4 separate regions of the Homo sapiens genome follow, and all the other regions are linked to region 3. The links are contacts of gene promoters, found by promoter capture Hi-C in blood cells and fetal thymus (Javierre and others, 2016). All regions are on one chromosome and are shown on one strand. Each heading gives the region's core, a stretch centred on a gene start or on the middle of the fragment in contact. The rest is flanking DNA. Distances are from core to core; before and after follow the strand shown.

Evidence for each region. The method cuts DNA at HindIII sites, captures the fragments that hold promoters and counts their contacts. A CHiCAGO score of 5 or more calls a contact.
Region 1: a fragment that was not itself captured here is called in contact with the fragment with the promoter of KLHL3 in region 3 in 5 of 17 cell types (naive CD8 T cells, activated CD4 T cells, non-activated CD4 T cells and 2 more); the score reaches 7.5 in naive CD8 T cells.
Region 2: a fragment that was not itself captured here is called in contact with the fragment with the promoter of KLHL3 in region 3 in 1 of 17 cell types (non-activated CD4 T cells); the score reaches 5.1 in non-activated CD4 T cells.
Region 4: a contact is called between a fragment that was not itself captured here and the fragment with the promoter of KLHL3 in region 3, in 1 of 17 cell types (naive B cells). The highest score is 6.4, in naive B cells.

What each region holds. Positions count from the first base shown.
Region 1 is chr5:138,039,869-138,043,172 of GRCh38, forward strand. It overlaps a transcript of FAM13B not described here. Among named protein-coding and RNA genes, the nearest start is that of FAM13B, 8.4 kb to the left of the region's middle. The HindIII fragment of the contact is 5,363 bases long and covers 1-3,304 here.
Region 2 is chr5:138,015,345-138,018,811 of GRCh38, forward strand. FAM13B (family with sequence similarity 13 member B) reads right to left here. Exons shown (of 24, transcript NM_001385994.1): 4 at 2,958-3,170. Among named protein-coding and RNA genes, the nearest start is that of FAM13B-AS1, 16 kb to the right of the region's middle. The HindIII fragment of the contact is 4,772 bases long and covers 1-3,467 here.
Region 3 is chr5:137,734,674-137,737,669 of GRCh38, forward strand. It overlaps KLHL3 (kelch like family member 3), which reads right to left and starts at 1,416. Exons shown (of 15, transcript NM_017415.3): 1 at 960-1,416. The coding sequence starts at 973. RefSeq lists an enhancer at 1,015-1,683. The HindIII fragment of the contact is 9,233 bases long and covers 1-2,996 here.
Region 4 is chr5:138,150,949-138,154,272 of GRCh38, forward strand. BRD8 (bromodomain containing 8) reads right to left here. Exons shown (of 27, transcript NM_139199.2): 21 at 1,534-1,812; 22 at 1-60. Among named protein-coding and RNA genes, the nearest start is that of NME5, 13 kb to the left of the region's middle. The HindIII fragment of the contact is 1,764 bases long and covers 570-2,333 here.

The sequences.
Region 1 (3,304 bases), core at 449-2,948, 310 kb after region 3:
TAACAATTTACAGAAGCATTTAATGTTTTCTGAATCCCCAAGCTCATCAGCAGAGAAGCTCCAAAACATGAAGGTGTACATCCCTATTTTAGGCCTTCATAGAAAGAAACCAACCTGGCCGGGCACGGTGGTTCAAGCCTGTAATCCCAGCACTTTGGGAGGCCGAGGAAGGCGGATCACGAGGTCAGGAGTTCAAGACCAGCCTGACCAACATAGTGAAACCCCATCTCTACTAAAAATACAAAGTTAGCTAGGCGTAGTGGCGCATGCCTGTAATCCCAGCTACTGGGGAGGCTGAGGCAGGAGAATCATTTGAACCCAGGAGGCAGAGGTTGCAGTGAGCCGAGATTGCACCACTGCACTTCAGCCTGGCGACAGAGCAAGACTCTGTCTCAAAAAAAAAAAAAAAAAAAAAAAAAGGCCGGGCACGGTGGCTCAAGCCTGTAATCCCAGCACTTTGGGAGGCCGAGGCGGGCCGATCACAAGGTCAGGAATTCCAGACCAGCCTGGCCAATATGGTGAAACGCTGTCTCTACTAAAAATATTAAAAAAAATTAGCTCGGCATGGTGGTGCATGCCTGTGATCCCAGCTACTCAGGAGGCTGAGGCAGGAGAATTGCTTGAATCTGGGAGGCGGAGATTACCGTGAGCCGAGATCGCGCCACTGCACTCCAGCCTGGGCGACGTAGACACCGTCTCAAAAACAAAACAAACAAAAAAGAAGGAGATAATAGAATGGAGGGAAGACAATATTCAAAGAAATAGTGGCTGAACATTTTCCAGAATTGAAGGTAAATATCCTAAATTCTGGAAGACCAAAACTTGCCATGCTGAAAAGTATAAAATGCACACATAAAATTTAGTACCCAGAGAGAAAGGGGATCTTAAAATTAGGCAGCAAGAAAAGACATTAGGCCGGGCACAGTGGCTCACGCCTGTAATCCCAGCACTCTGGGAGGCCAACATGAGCAGATTGCCTGAGGTCAGGAGTTCGAGACCAGCCTGACCAACATGGCAAAACCCTGCCTCTACTAAAATTACAAAAATTAGCTGGGTGTGGTGGCACACGCCTGTAATCCCAGCTACTCGAGAGGCTAAGGCAGGAGAATCACTTGAACCTGGGAGGCAGAGGTTGCAGTGAGCTGAGATTGCGCCACTGCACTCCAGCCTAGGCAACAGAGCAAGACTCCATCTCAAAAAAAAAAAAAAAAAAGAAAAGAAAAGACACTAATCTTCAAAGAAAAGATAATTTGGCTGACAGCTGACCTTTCAATAGTAACAATAGAAGCCAAATGATACTGCAGCGTATCTTCAAAATGTTAAGAGAAAATTACCATCTTCCAGAAGGAAGATCCAAAATGCGAGAAGTAATGGTGAACAAAGAAAATTGTTTGCATGTTTGCTGTAAATCTAAACACTATCCAAAATAATGGCAACAATATCTAAATTCTACTATTGTTCAATAATTTAACATATACTATTGTGAGAGGGTAAATTAAAGTATTAGAAGGCTTTGTATTGTTTAAGAGGAGGCTAAATAAGTCTATAATTTGTTGAGTTAAATATACATGTTAAAATTTCTACATAATCAGTACAAGAAATTAAACAGTATATATAACTTCCAGTTTATTAGGGGGATAAAATAAAATAGGAAGATCTTAATTTTAAAAATGGATAAAAAATGTTTAAGGAGGACAAATAGTAAAACATTAGATAGCAGAAATAAATTCAAATATGAGTAATTACAATCAGTGTAAATATATTAATTCCTAATTAAAAGTCAAAGAGCTGGGCATGGTGGTTCACACCCATAATCCCAGCACTTTGGGAGGCCAAGGCAGGAGGATTGCTTAAGGCCAGGAGTTTGAAACCAGCCTGGGCAACATAGCAAGACCCCATCTCAAAAAAAAAAATTGGGGGTGGGGGGTGGTACTGAGACAGGAGAATCACCTGAACCTGGTAATTCAAGCCTGCAGTAAGCACCACCGCACTCCAGCCTGGGTGGCAGAGCAAGACCCTGTCTCAAAAAAAAAAAAAATATTAATAGCCAGGCACAGTGGTTTGCACCTGTAATCCCAGCTAGTCAGGAGGCTGAGGCAGGAGGATTTTTTGAGCCCGGAAGTTCAAGGTTACAGTGAACTATGACTGCACCACTGCACTCCAGCCTGCACAACAGGGGAAGACCCTGAAGTTCATAGCTGCATTTTTTATATTGGTGAAAAAAATGGAAACTCAAGCTCAGGTAGATAGCAATGATAGAATGATGAATGATTAATACAGTATGGTATCTTCATACCATGTAAACAATGAAAATGAACAAACTACAGCTACAAACAACAATGTGATGAATCACAAAAATAAATGAAAGAAGCCAGACACAAACAAATACTGTATGAATCCGTTAAAAACAGTTCAAAAGCAGGGAAAACTAAACTATCATTTTAGAAGTCAGAATTGTGGTTAAGGAGGGAAGTCTTTTTGAGGAAGGAAGAAATCAATAATAAGGAGGGGTCATGAGAAGATATTCCATTTCTTAACCTAGGGGGAAGTTGCACATATATGTTCACCTAGGGACAATTCAGTGAGCTGTACTCATGATCTGTATACTTCTCCATATGTATTTTATATTTCAAAAAGTTTAAAAATAAAAACTAGCTCCTTAAGTTTTTAAGTTTTTTCTTTAATTGAAATTAAATATAACAGTGTTTCCCAAAAAAAGCAAAACTAAATCATCATGTTTAGGGATACAAATTAGGGGAAAAACTTAAAAGAAAAAAAAAAAAAGCCAGGAAGTGACTATCATAGACATCATGATACTGGTTCTGGTTCTTCTGGGAACGAGGGGCAAGAGTTCGTGGAGACACAAAAATAAGAATGCTCTTATTCTTGATATGAGCTGTGGTGGTTACATGGGTGTTTGCTTTGTATTAAATTGACCAGGGGCCAGGCGCGGTGGGTCATGCCTATAATCCCAGCACTTTGGGAGGCTGAGGAGGGTGGACCACCTGAAGCCAGGAGTTCAAGACCAGCCTGGCTAACATGGTGAAACCCTGTTTCTACTAAAAATACAAAAAGTAGCCGGGTGTGGTGGCGCATGCCTGTAGTCCCAGCTACTCGGGAGGCTGAGGCAGAAGAATCACTCGAACCCAGGAAGTGGAGGTTACAGTGAGCTGAGATCGTGCCACTTCATCCCAGCCTGGGCAACAGAGCCAGACTCCATCTCAAATAAAAAAGAACAACAACAAAAGAAGAAATTGACCAGGCCAGCAAGAATCACTTGAGGCCAGGAATTGGAGACCAGCCT
Region 2 (3,467 bases), core at 500-2,999, 280 kb after region 3:
CTTCTTCCATGATCTTAAAAGCAATTAACTGTCATGTATTTGTGAATATTAAAATATTATCATATTATTTATCTACAGCTGGGTGCCATGGCTCATGCCTGTAATTCCAGCACTCTGGGAGGCCAAGGTGGGCAGATCACTTGAGGTCAGGAGTTCGAGATCAGCCTGGCCAACATGGTGAAACCCCATCTCTACTAAAAATACAAAAAGTAGCTGGGTATGGTAGCACACACCTGTAGTCCCTGCTACTCAGGAGGCTGAAGCATGAGAATCACTTGAACCTGGGAGGCAGAGGTTGCAGTGGGCCAAGATGGTCCCACTGCACTCCAGCCTGGGTGACAGAGCAAGACTCTGTCTCAAAGAATAAAAGAAACAAACAAAATTATCTACAGTAAATGAAGAGAGGAAACTTTGTTCAGAGATCTAGACACCTTCCCAAAATAACTAAATGAATGAATGATCAGATGATATTACAACATAAATGCAAATATCACCCCAAATACTACCATACCTAGCTGCACAGCTATTAAAGAAACGGGTGTATATGTGCACACATACATACACATGCTAATGATTATCTATGTATAAGTGGAAAATAGAAGAAAACAGTGAATTTCTCATATTAAACATGAAAGCACTTATTGACCATAAGCATTTTTGCTTTTTTTTGCACATCTCTTTTGCAAATTTTTGCATATCTTAAATTCCTTCACAAGTGAATGTTAGCATAAGAATAAGTAACAAGATGCGTATTGTAATTCCATGAATATCAACACAGTACATGGTGCTGTCATAATTTTAAATGAAAACCAGGCCATGGCTAAGACTGAAACTTTTTCAAATAGGGTAAATGCGCAATTTTTGAAAGAAAAGAAGGGGTAGGATTGGTTTACAATTTATGACCAGAAAGTTGTGTCTTTGAAGAGGAACTTAGTTGTCCCAACAGTACATGATGCTGTCATAATTTTAAATGAAAACCAGGCCAGGTACAATGGCTCACTCCTATAATCCCAGTGCTTTGGGAAACTGAGACAGTTTGGGAAACTGAGACAGGAGGATCACTTGAGCTCAGGAGTTCAAGACCTGCTTGGGCAACATAGCAAGATCTTGTCTCTACAAAACATAAAAAATTTTAAAAAATTAGCCAGGCATGGTGGTGCGCGCCTGTAGTCCCAGCTACTCAAGAGGCTGAGGCGAGAGGATCACTTGAGCCCTGGAGATCAAGACTGTAGTGAACTAGGATCACACCACTGCACTCCAGCCTGGGCGACAGAGCAAGGACATTTCAAAAAAACAACAACAACGAATAAATGAAAACCAACTGAAATGACAATCCTAGTGAAAAATAAATAGCTTCTGATAGATTCTACCAGTGAGTCAATGACTTTGCTTCCATTAAATCTCACTGCAATTATTAATTTATAAATTTTCATTCAGGACTGAAAGATTATCTGACTCTTGGAACTTTAAATATGTGTCTGCAATTCAGCTAACAGAGGGAACATGGAAACCTATCACTATAAAGAGAATGGCTCTAGAGTTATTTTAAAAGGCTCAAAAAACCTTTACCATATTGGTTTCGGTTCATATTTAATAAATGCAAAATGCTTATTATGTGTCTCAACATAAACATTTGAAAAAATTCCTGTAATAATAAAATGGATTCAAAAATTCAAAACAAAAAAGCGTAATTTTGGGGGGAGAAAAATTAAAGTGATGCATTGAAAAAAGGGTAGCCTTACTAATAACATTTCGTTTTAAAACCTGTTTTTTGATCCAGATTATAGAGTAAAAGAACAGAACTGAATCAGGTTACCCCTTCCTGAATATAGCAAGTTCAAAGTAAGCCTTATGATTTAGCTGTACAGAAAACATGTGTAAGAGGGTCACAGAACGTCTTTGCATTGACCTTTATACATAAATCAAAGACATCCAACTAACTTAGGCTCACAGTTTAAAATTTAAGAAAAAGACGGATAAACACTTTCGAAAGAAAATATACCTTCTCTGACAACATAATACTTAAGGATATATACACACATATTATAGAATGCCCAGCTGTGATAGAGATAGGCATAAAGGAAGTAGTTATAATTTCTTAGCATAACTGAATTTCTTTAGAAGCCCCGATTCAAAAAATAAATGAACTCCATAATACCAAAAAAGCCTGAAAGGGTAATTTTAAAATTCAAGAAATATATAACTCTATATGCCAACTTTACACATTTTCCTATATAATGAAGCATGTCCCTCCATTACATATACATGAATACCATTTGGCTCTAGGAACAGAAGCATTTCCTCACTTCTTGGTTCTTTGACCTTTCTGCTGCCTCTACCATTATTTTTCCTGTTCCTGTTCCACTCTAGCTAAGCACTACTTTTTAGTCACCACCAAAAAAACCTAACAAAGATACATCTTTTTTTGTTTCTTTAGCTTAGAGTCTAATGTTCAATTTGATATTCATTTCCTTTAGCTAAGTGTTCAAGAACAAGTTTTAGGTATATTCAAAGCCTAGAATCAAAGTTGTCTTCTTCCTTTTGCTAGGAAATTCTATCAAACCAGGGATAAGTAACCCTAATAGTGGTAATATCACCACTAAGCAACACCTTTGGCTACTATTGGACATTGTGCCACCACACACATTACCTTACATAAATTTCTCTTCTTTCTTTTTGATGACCCCTCCTACTCCTTGTTCTTGTCTCCTCCCTTTCCTCTTCTTCACCCTGTTTCTTAGGCTAATAAAACCAATCACAAAAAGTAAATAGTACTAGAGGGATCCCGGAAGTTGCCTTTCCTATGACAAGATCATACAACCCCAAAAAGCAAATGAGAAAATAACAAATTAATCTCTAAAATACTATACTTACTGTTTACATGTCAAGATTTCTAAAAGGTAAAGACTAGGAAATTAACAACAAATGACCAATTGATAAGTATCAAATTATGTTACCTTGAGAAAGCTGCATCAAGTGAATATGTAAACTGCCAGGGATAACAGGTTCAGGAAGTTCTTGAAGAAAAAATCTAAGAAGGCTAATAGCTGAGGGAACATCTGCTTCCTTAACCAAATCCACCTCTTCTCCGCTGTCGTATCTCTGCCGAAGCCACTCCACTGTCTCAGCATTTCCATTGACTTGAAAAAGTCCTTGTTGCTCCAGACCTCCTACGTTAGTTCAAGGCAATCATTCAATAAGCTGCAATGTCAACTGCTTGACCATATATATTCATTCTCCAATTAACTTAAAATACTCATACTTTTGGAAAGCCTTTCTTGGCTCCCCTGACTTGTCTAAAAACCTTCAAATTATACATCTAGAAACATACTATCTCTGTTCTAAGGGATATTCTATTTTATCCCACCCCTTATATCCATTAAAAATATTCCTATCACCCCCACTAAAACTTGTTCTAGGCTGGGCAACTGTCATTTCTAAGTATATGAATTTAAGTAAAAATCACA
Region 3 (2,996 bases), core at 166-2,665:
CCTCAGTGGTGCACTGCCATGGCCGGACCCCTCCCTGCAGTCTTCTCTCCTCAGATAAAATGGCAAGCCTCGTACTCTACCAACTGCAGACCAAAGAATGAAGAGGTTGGCACTCAAGAGATATTTTACTTCATAGACAGAGGAATGTCACCTCTGCACTGCGCTGAGCACCTTCACAATGAAAGATTCAGATCTTCAGATAACAATTTAAAAATTTAGATGTGTGTGCCTGCCAGGATCTAACTGCCTCGCTAGTTAGATCCAGCTCAACAAAAGTACTTAAAATCTTTTCTGCTGGTTCCTATTTCAAAAGAAATCCCTGATGGAGGAAGCACAGACCTTCCAGTATCACTCATAAACTTTTCAATACAAATATGAAACTCAGTTCAGAGCAAGTATCATCTGACTGGGTTTCTCTCCTTCATCCCTGAATGTGTGTGTATACAGGCATACACGGCGTGCACGCGCGCACACACACAGCCATCAGCATGGCATGCTTGCTGAAGATTCAAGCACTCCTGCGTGAAAATGCAAGTACACTATGTCAGGTCAGCCCCACTATGACATCAAAAACCCCCCACCAAAGAAAAAACACCCCGGGAAAGGAGCCAGGAAAGGGAAACGCCTCCTTGAAACAGCCTGAGAAAGGCAATCTGATTCAGCCTGTGCTGAAACTATTCCCGAACACCAGCCAGGAAGTCCCTTCTTTCAGGGTGCTCCGCTGCCTAGCAAACCCAGACCTGCCTTTGCGGAAGCCAGATCTCTGGAGATTCAAGCCCTGGAACGGGTGATTTGGAAAGCGGCTTTCCTGCTCTTGTTCTGGCGCCCTTTAAGATCCATCAGTGGCCAGGTCTTCCAACTCTGCCTAGCCAATGCAAACACAAAAGCTGGTGGCTGCACCGCAAGCACACATACACTTACATACACACACAACACAGCACACACTTATACATACATACCTTTCACCCTCCATTGTGTGAGGCCCAGCCAGGGTGGTAGCTGCTGAACTGTGTATGCACTCGGGGATCCTAGTTCTGTTCTTGATTCTCCCAGCAGACCAGTGGGAAATCTGATCAGCAACAGTGATTCAGCATGGCTGCAAGTGAAGCCTCCTCCCTTCTCAATCCTCCTTCCTCTGACTTACTCGCAGCAGCTTCTACCGCAAAAGCAGCAGCAACAGAAAATGTCTTACCCAGAGCTCCCTGCAGCCCTTTCAGCTGCTAAAAGCAGCAACCCACTTGCTCCCCCTCCCCCGCAGGCTTGCTGCTCCTTGGTCTCCTAGGAACGGCGGCAGCTCCAGCGACCCAGGTGCACTGCCACCTTTCCAGCTTCCTCTGCATCTGCCCAGGCATCCCCAGCCCAGGCGATTAGCCCGCCCCTGGGGCTCCTGCCTCCTCTGTCTAGGCTGCAAAGAATCAGGCAGTTCGTCACTAGCCCGAGAAATACTGGCCCCTACACCCTCCCCTGCTCCCATAGGCTATGAGTCTGTCAGCCTGGCCAGATTGCTGGAATGAGGAGGCCCCTCTGTGGCCTGCAGTGGAGTTTATCATCCACCTGGGGAAATTCACTTGTAGGTCACAGTTTATGTTCCAAATCCTCCTCCCAAATTCTGTAGTAGCTCTGAGTGTCTGATAGATGGGGAGAAGTTAAGGGAAAAGCACCTGACAGAAGTGAGAAAAACACAGAGAGAAATTAAGAGAATACAGAGAGAAATTGGAAAACTAGTCGAAAAAGAGAGGTAGTACAAATAGGTGAAACTGAAACAAACCCTATTTTACTGCAAGAGGCCAAAGACTACTGCAGTAAAGCTATCACAATGAATACTAAAATATCTTAGCACAATCCTAAAATATCTTCCTAAAATCTGTCATATTGGAATTTAACTTAAGCAGTGGCTCCAACTAGTAAGTCTCCCACTGAACCCCCATATCCAGCCAAAGATCTTTCACATCCTGTAATCTCCAGCTGCTGAGCTTCAATTTAGACTAATTTAACTCTCCCTGCCTGAAATGCCTTCTCCAATCCCAGTCCTTTAGTCTTTCTGGGAGTCCAGTCAAATCCCATGTCTTCATAAAACCTTCCCTAATCACACCAATGACAGTCAATCACCACCAAAATACACAAACTATACTTTCCTGTATCGTCATCTCACACCTAATATACAGTCTTGGCTAATTCATTATTTATAAATCTTCTTTCCCAAACTAAAACATAATCTTGTGGAAGGCATGAGGCCAGTCTGTATATCCTAGCCACAGAGGCTTAGAGGTAACTGGGACAATTAGCTGCAAAAAGTGGTGCAGAAGCTATCCTAATGCCTCAGAAAAAAATCAGCTATGAGCATCTCTCTTCTGGGACACCTCATGGCACCCCTGGGCTTTTCCGAATCCACACCAGCACTCACTGGGTGAGTGACTTTCCTGAGTAGTGTTCTCCACACTCTGGACCTCATGCTCAGCTACTCATTCACAATATAGGGTCAGACCAGACAATCTTTAGAGTCCCTTTCAGCTCCAAGATCACAGGATTCTAAAAATGTTTTAAATGGTCCGTTTTTCTTCTCAGAGTAATCCGTGTGATTGTTTAAGAAGAAATACTAGGCTCCAATGTGTTGTAGGGGGCTTCAAGGAGGATAACATGATGTAGGTGAAAGTACGAAGAGACGCTCAGTAAATCTATCATCCTTATCATTTTAACCTGTTAAATTTCTTCACTACTACAAAGCCCTAAAACCACAGAAGGAAGAGAGGAACACTGAGGTGACAGAAAGTAAAAGTAACTAAAACTTTATATAGCCTCCTGAACTCAAACTGGCTACAGGGTTATTCTCAAAGATTACCTCCCCTGGCACCTCAGTGTTCTCTTAGACAAGGCCATTACTCACACTCACTCTTTCTCAAGTGAGAAGAGGCCTGGATAATTTCATTTACACCCCACAGGGCTGTATCTTCACTTCTTCCTTGCACAACAATACCCCTCATATCTTGTTCCCTCTA
Region 4 (3,324 bases), core at 202-2,701, 420 kb after region 3:
GCAGCAGCCTTCACTTGATTCGTTGCTGCTGATGCACAAGGGCTCCATTAAATAAGCTACCTGCAATCAAAGTTTATTATTAGATGCACAGGAACACCACTGAAAATCATCATCCACATATCAACAATGCCACATGCTAACACTGTCACAGTGACTAAGTCTGAGAGGACAAAATGGTTTAATTAATACAATCATCTAAAATCTGCCAAAATATCTTATATACACAGGCACTGGGCTGGTTGGTGGGGACACTACAGTGAACAAGAAAGATATGGTTCTTGCCTCTTCCAGGAGTTTATGTTCTACTTTTTCATCTCAGCTGTCAACTCTGATCAATTGGGAGTGGCTGTCTAGAATAAAGTGTTGAAAATTTTGTCTACCACAGACACTTGTAGAGAGAAGTGGCAACATTTGAAATGGATGCTTGCTGATCTTGATCTAGGGTCTTCTAAATGTGTTCAATAACAGCATACATATAACTCTCTGTCCAATTCTGTTTATTTCTGGTCCTCAGCCCTTAACCAAGGTAATGACACTTAAAAATACTACCTTAAAGTTACAGCATTTTAAGCTTCAAGGAAAATTTGGGCAAGTATAACTTCCCACAACTCCAAAAGCATGAATTACAAGGATACTCATAAAGCAGTCCTTATGACCCAGGCCCCTAATGACTGAAGTATTAGAAATTCAGTCAAAAAGCATGTATTTTTTTATTTTTAATTTTTTTACTTTTGAGACGGAGTCTCGCTCTGTTACCTAGGCTGGAGTCCAATGGCACGATCTCAGCTCACTGCAACTTCCGCCTCCCGGGTTCAAGCGATTCTCCTGCCTCAGCCTCCCAGGTAGCTGGGATTACAGGCACATGCCACCAAGCCCGGCTAATTTTTTAATTTTAATTTTAATTTTAATTAATTTATTTATTTAGAGACAGAGTTTCGCTCTGTCGCCCAGGCTGGAGTGCAATGGTGTGATCTCAGCTCACTGCAACCTCCGCCTCTCAGGTTCAAGTGATTCTCCTGCCTCAGCCTCCCGAGCAGCTGGGATTACAGGCGCCCGCCACCACGCCCGGCTAATTTTTTGTATTTTTAGTAGAGATGGGGTTTCACCATGTTGGCCAGGCTGGTCTTGAACTCCTGACCTCAAGTGATCCGCCCGCCTCGGCCTCCTAAAGTGCTGGGATTACAGGCATGAGCCACTGCGCCCGGCCATTTTTGTATTTTTAGTAGAGATGGGGTTTCACCATGTTGGCCAGGCTGGTCTCGAACTCCCAACCTCAAGTGATCCACTGGCCTCAGCCTCCCAAAGTGCTGGGATTACAGGCGTGAGCCACTGCACCCGGCCCAAAAAGCATGTATTTGGTGCATATTCTGTATCAGCACCAAGTGCTGAGGACATAGCAATGAACTTAATCCCTGCCACTGTGGAGCTTATATTTTAGTAAACAATATTAAGAGTGGTAGAAGCATGTAAGGATAAGCATTCTCTTAGAAAGTTGAGGCTTTTCCAGCTTTGGAAATAAGAGCTCACTGTTACCTCAGAGAGAAAGTGGAGGAGGTTCTGGTGGCTGGCTTTCCTTGCCGCTTCCTGAGATTCCTCACTGCCTCCATCCCCAACAAGCAGTTCACTAGGTTCTCTCTCCGGGCTGCTTTCCTCTAGTTCCTCAGCCTCTGGATCCTCAGTTTCCCTCCAGTTGCCCACATCAAGATCCAGACTGGAGTCCCATGAGCTGAAGAGGGACCTGCAGTCATTGCTCAACTCAGAGTCATTGGGATGATCTTGTTCAGAATCCAGCCAAACCCACTCGTGTCCCATCTGTAAATACACAGGAAAACATGCATTAAATTCATTCAAATAAATATTCCTGAGGCATCTCCATCTCCCGAGTTCAGTAGAAAAATAAGGGGCCAGAAATTTATTTGTATTCAAGTATTCATCATTAGGAAGAATTAAAATCTTGCTGAAGGGAGACATGAGATGAAATTATATTTGTCTTTGGGAATAAAGAAAGCCCCATGTCAGTATAACAGAGATATTGCACCATACAATACAGTATAATAGAGACATTAATATTACCTAATAATTATTTTTACTTGGAATTCCTCATATTCACACCAAAAGAAGGGAAAGAACTGGAGCATAGCTAGCTCAATTATTTTCCTCTAGCCCAAATCATCCATAACTAAACCGTAAGGCAAACAAATTGAGGGGGCAGGGGATATTTTCCTCAGTGTATAAACATTTTTAACCTATGAACCATTAAACCTTCAAAACACACTTTAGGATTGCCTTTGGCATCCTTCTGGTCATATCCAAATTGATGTTGAGAAACATTAAGCTTAAAATATATCTTCCCTTGCTCTCATTACACCACTATCTTGGTTTTTTTATATCTTTCTTTGTCCTCTCCCTTTTACAACTTTCAATAAATCCCTACCTTCTATGTTCATGCTTGGTCCTCTGCTTTCTTATTAATGTATTTTAAAAAAATGTATATATACTTTGAGGTTTCAACTTTGACCTCTATTCAGGTGGCTCCCAAATCTCTCTACCTTTACTTCTTATATGAATTCTGGTGTCATTTCTCCATGCATCCAAAAGTCAATTCCCTTTAGATGCTCTACCACCTGCTGTAACATTTCTAAAATAAAAATCACATTTCCTTTATCTCCAAAATCACTGCTTCTTCCCAATTTCCTTATCCCCATCACCATTTTCTTTTCTTTTCTTTTTTTTTTTTTTTTTTTTTGAACGAACTTTCACTCTTGTTGCCCAGGCTGGAGCACAATGGCCCAATCTCGGCTCACTGCAACCTCTGCTTCCTGGGTTCAAGCAATTCTCCTGCCTCAGCCTCCTGAGTAGCTGAGATTACAGGTGCCCACCACCATGCCCGGCTAATTTTTGTATATTTATAGAGACGGGGTTTCACCATGTTGACTAGGCTGGTCTTGAACTTCTGACCTCAGGGGATCCACCCACCTTTGCCTCCCAAAGTGCTGGGATTACAGGCGTGAGCCACCACACCCGACCCCATCACCATTTTCTTAGTCTACAGAACCCACAATTCTGTTTTGACCCTTCCTTCTCTTATATTCAGTAAGCAAGTCCTCTTCCCAGTTTTCTCCCACAATAAGTTTTCTCAGTGTCCATCCTTTCCTGAATAAATGCCATAGTCTCCTAGTCAGCTTTTCTATCTTTAATCCTATCTGCTCTCAACAAATATAGTTATTCTACTCAAGGCTTTATAACAGCTATCACCTCAAATATAAATTTCTCAATCTGCCAAAGTCCTCCACAAATTTAGCCTTATTTTGTTCCCTTCACTCA